2 separate regions of the Homo sapiens genome follow, and region 2 is linked to region 1. The links are contacts of gene promoters, found by promoter capture Hi-C in blood cells and fetal thymus (Javierre and others, 2016). All regions are on one chromosome and are shown on one strand. The core of a region is centred on a gene start or on the middle of the fragment in contact, and the rest is flanking DNA. Distances in the headings are between cores, read along the strand shown.

What was found. The method cuts DNA at HindIII sites, captures the fragments that hold promoters and counts their contacts. A CHiCAGO score of 5 or more calls a contact.
Region 2: a contact is called between a fragment that was not itself captured here and the fragment with the promoter of FBRSL1 in region 1, in 1 of 17 cell types (total B cells). The highest score is 5.1, in total B cells.

What each region holds. Positions count from the first base shown.
Region 1 is chr12:132,487,274-132,491,820 of GRCh38, reverse strand. FBRSL1 (fibrosin like 1) reads right to left here and starts at 1,670. Exons shown (of 19, transcript NM_001367871.1): 1 at 960-1,670. The coding sequence starts at 1,250. RefSeq lists enhancers at 19-582, 2,580-2,709 and silencers at 1,740-2,189, 2,320-2,389. The HindIII fragment of the contact is 10,018 bases long and covers 1-4,547 here.
Region 2 is chr12:132,073,213-132,078,016 of GRCh38, reverse strand. It overlaps EP400 (E1A binding protein p400), which reads right to left. Exons shown (of 53, transcript NM_015409.5): 52 at 1,424-1,501; 53 at 1-616. The coding sequence ends at 344. Among named protein-coding and RNA genes, the nearest start is that of SNORA49, 44 kb to the right of the region's middle. The HindIII fragment of the contact is 1,529 bases long and covers 1,732-3,260 here.

The DNA.
Region 1 (4,547 bases), core at 421-2,920:
CCTGGCCACCGGCCCTGACCCAAGGCTCTCTACAGTCCCCAGAGTTTGGATGAGAACTTGAAGAGGACTTGCTGCTTCAGGGGCCTGCAGTAGGCATCTCCCCTTTTCCCAAAGCTCAGCTTCTGAGACTGGGGGATCCCAGGCCATGGGCTCCCAAGCCCCTGGAAAAGTGAGAGGGGTTGGAAATGGGGTGATTCTGGGAGTCAAAGTCCAGCAGATGAGGGTCCCCCAAAGTAAGTGCTGCACGGGGCACACCTCGCTGGGCGGGTCTCGGCCCTGGTGCAGGGCAACTTGCTAGCATTCCTGCCCATGCCAGTCCTGGGGAGACAGCGCCTGCCCCAACTCTCAGACAGCATTTAATTTCCTTCTCTGCTCAGCTGAGTTCATGTAAGAGGAGCAGTATTTGCTCAGCAAATACTGTCCGTCAGCCAGACAAGCAATATTTTTGGCCAATCTATTAACCATGCAGCAGGCAGCAGTCACCAAGAGGGGTCTTGAGATTAACCCTCCTTCTCCCCTTCTCAGCAGAGCCCTCGAAGGGAGGAGGGAACGGGATGGCCCGCGGAGTATCCATTTTATCACCACCTCCCTAAGATCCAGCACTGCTCCCTAGCACGTCCTGAACCAGGCAGAGCGATATGCTGGCCACAGAAACACAACTGATAAAAGGCCGACGGTGCTGTCAGACAGCCCCCAATTTCGAAGCGTAGATTTTTTTGCCTCTGCAACTTAAAACGTCCCCAAACCCACCCGACGCTGCTGGGTCTTCCAGATGCGACGGTCTGGGCGAGCGGTGGGCACCCAGGGTCCCTGGAACGGGTACCAAGTGGCCGGGGCTTCCCTCAGGGCTGCCCACGGCGCGGGCGGTCGCAAGCCCAGGGGTCCCGGGATCGCCCGACGCGTCAACTCCGGGCCCCGTTCTCGCCTCAACGCCTGCGAAGCCGCACCCGTCCACCTACCTCCAGGGCCTCCAGGGTGCTGAAGCTGGCGATGGCGAAGCCGTCGATGACCTCCTCCTCCTGCGAGCTGGACTCGCGGCGGCGGCGGCGCGGGGGACGCGCGGTGCGGGGCGCGGGGGCGGCGCCTCGGGGGGGCGCGCCGCGGAGGCCCGCGTTCTCCTTGCCGGGGCTGGGCTCGGGCTCGTCGCCCGACGACGGACTCTGGGCGCGGGCGTCGCGGGCGGCCTCCCGGCGCCGGCCACGGTCCCGCTGCGCGCGCGAGCGCCGGCTCGGGCGGACCTTGGCCTCCATGGCCGCGCGTGCGCCCCGTCGGGCCGGTGACCTTGACGCCCCGCGCCTGGCTCGCAGCAGGCGGGCTCCCTCGGCTACGCGGCGCCGCCGGGCTGAGTGTGCGCCGCGCGGGCTCGGGCCCTGGGCGGCGGCGGGCGGCGGGCCGGGCCGGGCATGCCGGGCGCGGGGGGCGGCTCAGCCCCGGGCCCGGCGCGGCCTGGGACCCCCGGCGCGGGCGGCTGGGCGCATCGGCGGGGGCGGGCCCGGCGCTCAGCGGCCCTCGGCCGCCCCCCCGGGGGCGCGCCCCATGCGCGCGGCGCGGCGATCGGGCCGAGCGGGCGGGGCCGGGCGGGCGCGGCAGGCGGCAGGCGGGAGGCGGCCGGGCTCCTGGGCACCGGGCTCGTGAGGCGGCGGCGGCGCCCCGAACAGATAACAACTGACGCACTTCCGCCCGGCTGCGCTCGCCAGAGGAAGTGAGGGCCGCCGCGGGCGCCCGCGCGCCCCGCCCCGACCACGCCCCTGCCCCGCCCCGCTCATAAGGCTCCGCCCCCACCCCGCACACGCGGCCCGCCCCGCTCACAAGGCTCCGGCCCCTCCCCGCCCCATTCACGCAGGCCCCGCCCCCCGCAGGCTCCGCCCCCTCCCCGACCCGCTCACGCAGGCCCCGGCCCCGCCCCTCCCGGGCGCTCCCGCTAATTCAGGCCCCGCCCCACCCGCAGGTGCCCGCCCTTCGACCTCGCCCCCTAGCCGCGCCCCTCCCCGGCGCCCCGACCTCCGCTGCAGCCGGCGGTGATCCGCTCGGCTCCTTCCTGGGAGGGCGCTGGGATGCCGCGGCCCCTCCGTGGGCACCTGCGGGCGGCGCTCTCCAAGCGGGAGGCGGGGGCAGCGCCGCCCTCCTCTGCGGGACTGGGGTCCCCGGCCGCGGGCGGCTTCCGAGGAGGACGAGGGGCCTCCGGTCTCGCGGAACCGAAGTCCTGCCCTCGGCGAGCGTGGAAGGGACGGGGAAGGGGCGGGGAGGACCGGGGGAGGGTCCTCGGCCAGGCGGTGCCCCCTCCCCGCGTCCCCGCGGACCCTCCCAGGCCTCCTAGGATGCGGGAGGGGTCTGTCCGCGTCCCCGCCCCGCGCCACGTGCCCCCAAGTCCCACAAGAAGGCGGCTCCCGCCACCGAGACCCCCGGGAACGCGCCCAGCGAGGCGGGGGCTGCTGCCAGACACGGAGCGCAGTGTGGAGGGCGGCGCGGGCAGGAAGCGCACGGAGGCGGCTGCGGTTGCGAGGCAGGCGCGGGGCGAACTTCCTCCTCCACCCCCAGGACAGGCCGAGCTCGGAGGGGCCCGCCTGGTGGGGTTTTCTGAGCCCAGGGGCCCCTTGCGCGTGGGCACTGGAGTCATTGATTCATGCAGCGCGTATTTGCCAGATGCCTCCTGTGTCCAGGCTCTGTTGGTGACCCCGCAGCGGCTGAGATAGACTACCCTCTTAGAAGTGGGAGAGAGACCCTGAACACAGGGCCAAATAGAATATCAGCCAAGGATAATCTGAAGAAAATCGAACGGGGAGGTGTCACAGAGAGTGGGCATTGGGTGGTCCAGAGGGCCTCCCCGAGGAGTGACGACTCCGAGCCCCAGCAGTCATGGGCACCCTGTTTCAGGTCGGGGCTACACCCCTGCACAGGCCCTCGGAGAAGAATGGTGGTTTGCTGGAGGGCGGAGGGGAGGGTGCCCAAGACAGTGGTGGGACCCTGCCCTCGGTTGCCCTTAGTGGGAACGGGTCCTCGCCCACTCTGCGGGGTCCACTTTACCCTGCCTCTGGGAGAGCCTACTGGCGGCCTCTTGTGCAGGGCAGGAAGGGTGTGGTCCAGGCACCACTGGCTGTTTGCTGGGCTGAGGCAGTTGGGAAAGTAGCTCACTGGGGTGGGGGGACTTCCTGTTCACCCAGCCTCCTCCAGTCCACCCAGCCCGCTCTCTGGTTCCCTGTCAAAGCCTCCCCAGGGTGGGGGCAGGGTCCCCCTCCCCCTCTTCCCATTCCGGGTTTTGTTAAACCGTGGTTTCACCCTCCAGCATCCTCCCTTTTGATTTTTAAAAGCCTCATTAGGAAGACAGAAACGGACCCCGAGTAGTTTCTCCATGCACGCCTGCTCCCGAATTCCCCTCCCTGGACAGAAGGCCAGGAAATGTGGGCGAGGGTCACCCAGGTGGCATTTGAGGCTCTTGTTTAAATACAGGCCTCTTCCCAAGTAGCCTGGGAGTCCTCACCTGTTCCCCGAGGCTCCCAGAGGCCATCCCACCCTAGGCTGGGCCCAGAGGTCAGTCAGACTGCAAGGGGCATCCTGTGGGCACCCCCTCCCCCCCAGAAGAATTGCTTGGGAAGGTCTGAGGTTTTGGATTTGAAGTTTCTTTCTCTTTTTCTTTTTCTTTTTTTTTTTTTGAGACAGATCTCACTTTGTCACCCAGACTGGAGTGCAGTGGCGTGATCTTGGCTCACTGCAGCCTCCGTCTCCCGGGTTCAAGCCATTCTCTTGTCTCAGCCTCCCGAGTACCCAGGACTACAGGCCTATGCCACCATGTCTGACTAATGTTTTGTATTTTTAGTAGAGATGGGGTTTCGCCATGTTGGCCAAGCTAGTCTCGAACTCCTGACCTCAGGTGATCTACCCGCCTCAGCTTTCCAAAGTGCTGGGATTACAGGCGTGAACCACTGTGCCCAGCCTGAAGTTTCTGATTATAGACATACACTGTTTGTTTATCTGATCTCCGAAGATGTTCAGATGTGTGACCCCAGTGAAGGGCAGGGGCTCTGTAGACCTCCTCAGGGGCTTCCTTTTTGGGCTCCCCCCCGGGTTTCCCTGGCTGTCCTGGGGAAGGCGTCCCCAGGTGCCTTCTCTCCTTTGATCCATTTCCAGGTGTCCAGATGGCCAACCAGGGACCAGCCGCCATCTCTGGAGTTCTGGGCTCAAGTGCTCCCCAGGGACCAGCCGCCGATGCTGGAGTTCTGGGCTCAGGTGCTCCCCAGGGACCAGCCGCCGTCTCTGGAGTTCTGGGCTCAGGTGCTCCCCAGGGAGGGCTTGCTTTGGGAACCTTCTCTTACAGAAGAAAGCAGCTGGGCTACGTGCTGGATGGGAAGCCCTTGGGAGGGATGGTGGTTCTGGGGGTGGTTCTGGGGGTGGTTTCTGACAGATGCGTACTTGCCTGCTTGCGGACCGGGCTGTGTGTCTCCGGGAGCACGCATCACAGTGACCGGACATCCCACCCAGGACTCCGAACCTCCCTGGGGCTTGCCAGGGCCCTGGGCAGAGCTTGCAGCACGAACCCCACCCCCCACACT
Region 2 (4,804 bases), core at 1,247-3,746, 410 kb after region 1:
AGCACTACATGCTCACAAAGAAATTCTAAATGGCTTTCAGAACACAGTACTATGGCTCTAGGGGACGGGTGCGGGTGGGGACTGAAAGGTGAAATGATTTAGAGGAAGCCATGTTGTCACTTTTTCCATGAGCCACGTAGTACAGAGAACGCGGCACTCCATAAGGACCATTTGTCCTGCAGTGTGGGATGCATTTTAATAAAATGATTACACTATTTTGTTTCAATTATATCTTTCCCAGTGCTGAATCTCTTGCGTGACATGGTCCCAAGGTTCACTAATAAAGCGTTTTCTGTGAGGAAGGTAGTTTTGCTTTAGATGAGAGGCAGCCCTGCTGCCCTGACTACTGGCACGGAGGCTTAGTAGGTGTCTTTAGCCTGACAGCAGGGACCCTCATCTGTAACTTGGGCTGCTGGCTTGGGCTGTCGGAGCTGGCGGGCACCTGGGCTGGGTTGGGAGCGCCTGGAGTCTGGAGCGGGGCCGACGCCGTGGTCACCACCTGCTGCTGAATGAGTTTCTGCTGAACCACCTGGGCAGTCGCGGTCACTGCAGGGATCATCTGCACCTGCTGCCCGGCCGCCGTCGCCTGCGTGAGCGCCACAGTCTGTGGAGAAGCCTGAGCCGAGAGAGTCAGAAAACACACATTGCCCAGGAAACTCAGTCCAGGGACAGGAAAATGGACGTTCTTTGGGATGGGGAGGACTCGAGAAACTTCACTGACTATGCTTTTATGACACGGAAGAATGACCAGTCACACAACAGTATGACCTCTGGTTTCCAATTAAACACAAGTGGAAAATTAAAAGATGGTTGCTTTTAGACTAACACCAGATGCCTCTTGGGAAAAGGGTGAGAGCTGGGTCAGGGACTGATTTTGTTGTTGTAGTAAAGCTTTTAATAGAGTTTGGTTTCTTGAAATCTATATGCCAGTGTGACTTTAAACAAAATTTAGAAAGTTTAAAGCACCGCTTTACATTTAAAGCACTGTGCTAAAGAGTCATATTGTGGAGCATCAGTGACAACAGTGAAAGCGCCTGAAGGGCTTCTGTGGGAGGCAAGGCCACTGTGCCCACAGCGCCTCTGCTCAAGGGCGGGCCCCGAGCGGAGCCTGCTTGCCTGAGGCCTGTGCCTCCCTAAAACCACAGGGCAGTGTCTGCGACTTGCAGGACACACCCGCGATGATCAGTGAATGAAGGGTCCTGGGAATGAGCCCAAGGTGAGGCTCCCTCAGTATGGCTGACACAACCTCTAAACGCTTGTTCACTCTTCTCATTATTAAGTGTATCTAGTTTTTCCCCTGAAGTTAATGTTTTTGTGTGTATCACAAAAATCAAAAGTGATTCCCTAATCATGACCTCAGATGAAAACAACCCATTCTCTGACCTGGGAAATGTGAGGTTTCCACTTTGTCTATGCGTCCTACCTGCTGGGAAGCAGAGGCAACTTGCTGGATGCTGGCCACGGGTGTTTGCTGTTGAACAACTTGAGGAAGTTTTGCAACCTTTGACAAAACAAAAAAAGCCAAACATACAATTCAAAGGAGTATGTGCACAAAAAGAGATTTTTCCTCCCTTTCTGTCCTCAGTTAATGCAAAAAACACAATGACCAGGTGACACAGAAGAGCAATTCTCGTAGTGTGCCCACCTGCAGCAGTGAGAGAGCAAGTCGTTCCACTGCATGGTGAGTCAACTGACTGCCTCCCCAATTTGCCATCACTCATCATTTAAGCTTATTTTTGGTCTCATATTTCAGACACATTTTTTCTTTTCACAAAAACGACTGCAAGTTTATATGAAAGAATCAGACTGAGGATGGTAAGTATTTGAGCGTCTTGTGAGTCCCAAGGGCTCTGCATATGACAGGCCTGGACGACGTTCCAGTAATGAGCTGTACAGTGCAGCTAGGGCAGCCAGCTGAAGTGGGGAACCCGGTGACGCACCAAGGTTTTGAGGCTGGTAATTTTATCATTTTTCTACATTCTTCTTAGTCATGATTGAGATCTGGCTATTTATAAAGCAACACTTTCCACCCAGTGCCCACTTTCTGTGCACTTGCTACTGCATGCATCTCCCGCTGTCTTGACGTAGTAAGAGGCTCTGGGCCACCTGTGTGTCCTATCAGCACCGTCATGGCGTGCACCCAGAACACAAGAGAGGCTCCAGCGTGGGCAGCTGCTGGGGGCCCTGATTTCAAGGGCCCTCCCTGCACAAGGCCCTCACGGACCCTGGTCTCTTGCTGGGTCCTGTTACTTACAGAAAACGGATGAAAATAATATTTCCCAAGATTATTCTGCGAAATATGTGAAATTACATGATTTACTCACACATGAACAAAGGTCGAAATAAATGTTAGTCCTTACTAAAATTAAAATCAATCAGAAGGCATTTACTAGTTTACTGTCACTTAAACAATTATAAATAAAATTCACTAAGATAAGTGCCCTGAGCGCCCCCTGTGGAACTGCTGGGAAACAAAGATGCAGCCGGTGCTCCAGGGCCCATCTCAAGACCACAATGGTCCAGGACTTACTTGGCACAGCACTGAAAATCCTGAGACGTCTTAAATAAAGCACTAGCAAGAAATCTTAAATGTACCAAGAAACCTGCAAAGAGTCAGGAACTGCCAGTCTCCAAACCTAAGCACAGGCGGGCATCACGAGTCACGGAGCAGAAAAGCTGCACAACCTCTGCCCGGGATCGCTGGCCACATGGAGACGCACCCCGTGATCTCCAGGGTCGCACAGGACACAGCTGACCAGACACCAGGTATAGGCCAGTTCTCGGTGGGGAGCTTGCAAAAGAGCCCCGTGCTACTGCCAGCTGCCATCCTGGAGGGAGACACTGTACCCACAAAGGTACCCAAAGGCTGCAAAGAAAGCATCCCCTTCCTCCAGTGGCATCTGTAAGAAAAGCACCTGCCCTAAGCCTCAGTGCCGGGGAGGAGAGAGGAGGAGACACAGATTCAGAGGCCAGGTGGGTAACACCTGAGAGCTGAGTGAAAGCCTGAGCCACACACCAAGCAGTGTTCCTGTGGCACCTGAAGGTGCCCGCGGAAGCAAAACTCCACCTTTGCCCCAGGCTGCGAGGGGTCCCCGCAGATGCAGCACATTTCAGACAGGGAAATCACCAGATCCAGAAAAACACCTCACTCACTCTGCGAGGCCTGGAAACAAGAGACTATAAACAAAGACCAGGCATTATTTGGGAACTTCTGAAAATAAAATAATAAATCATCAAGATAAAAATTCAACAGACAAGCTTTGAAGCAGATTTGACTTAACCAAGGGAAAAATGAGTGACTGAGGAGACAGAGCGAAAGACATGACTCAGAATATAGTACGACGAGACAAAGACACAGAAAATACAAAAGCTGCTGAGAGACCTGGAGGGCAGAGGAAGCAGGACAGGGGCAACACGTAAACAAACAGTGGCTGCTTATTTCCTAAAGACATGAGAGAGACTGCCCGAGATTCAAGAAGCTGGAGCATTGGAATGAAACTGCAAAACAACAAAGACAAAGACAACGTCTCGATAACAGGCAGACAGTGGGGGAGAGAGGTGACCCAGAACAACAAAGACAAAGACAACGTCTCAGTAACAGGCAGACGGTGGGGGAGAGAGGTGACCCAAAACAACAAAGACAAAGACAACGTCTCAATAACAGGCAGTCGGTGGGGAAGAGACAGGTGACCCTGGAAGAGAGAAACGCTGGACAGACACCGGCTCCTCTTCAACAACAAAAGCAGCCACAGTGAGGAAATGATACCGTGAATGCACTCAGAAAACAATGCCGACCGGGCGCGGTGGCTCATGCCTGTAATCCCAGCACTTTGGGAGGCCGAGGCAGGTGGATCACCTGAGGTCAGGTGTTCGAGACCAGTCTGGCCAACATGGTGAAACCCCACCTCTACTAAAAATATAAAAATTAGCTGGGCATGGTGGTGTGTGCCTGTAGTCCCAGCTACTCGGGAGGCTGAGGCGGGAGAATCTCTTGAATGTGGGAGACAGAAGTTGCAGTGAGCCAAGATCATGCCACTGCACTCCAGCATGGGAGAGTGAGCCTCCGTCTCAAAAAAAAAAAAAAAAAAAAAAAAAAACCCCAAAAAACAATGCCAATCCGGAATTCTGTACTAAGCAAAACTGTCTCTCAGGAACAAGAGTGACACACAGGCATTTTCAAGCACTAAAGGAAATTCCAAAGGATGGGTCAAGTGGAAGGAAAGTAATTCCACATAAAAAGTCAAAGATGAAAAAGGACAGAATTATGGCTGGGCATGGTGGCTCACGCCTATAATCCCAACACTTTGGGAGGCCAAGGCAGGTGCATCACGAGGTCAGGAGTTCGAGACTAGCCTGGCCAACATGGTGAAACCCATCTCTACTAAAAATACAAAAATTAGCTGGGCCTGGTGGCATGTGCCTGTAATCCCAGCTACTCAGGAGGCTGAGGCAGGAGACTCGCTTGAACACAGGAGGCGGAAGTTGCAGTGAGCCAAGATCGCGCCACTGCACTCCAGCCTAGGCGATGGAGCAAGACTGTGTCAAAAAAAAAAAAAAGGAAAAGGGACAGAATTAAAACGCACACTAACAGCAGCATTTGAGATGAATAAACTGAGCTACTGTGTGATAAGATCATTGCTGGAGAAGAGGGTGGAGGCCATCGTTAACTTCATACTCTGATACAGAAGTGTGCACATGGAGATTTTAGGGTAACCACTTAAAGAACAGAAAGAAAATATATAATTTTTCACTGGCAGAGGGGAGAATTGATAAAAAAAAAAAAAAAAAGAGAAGGTGGCCCAAA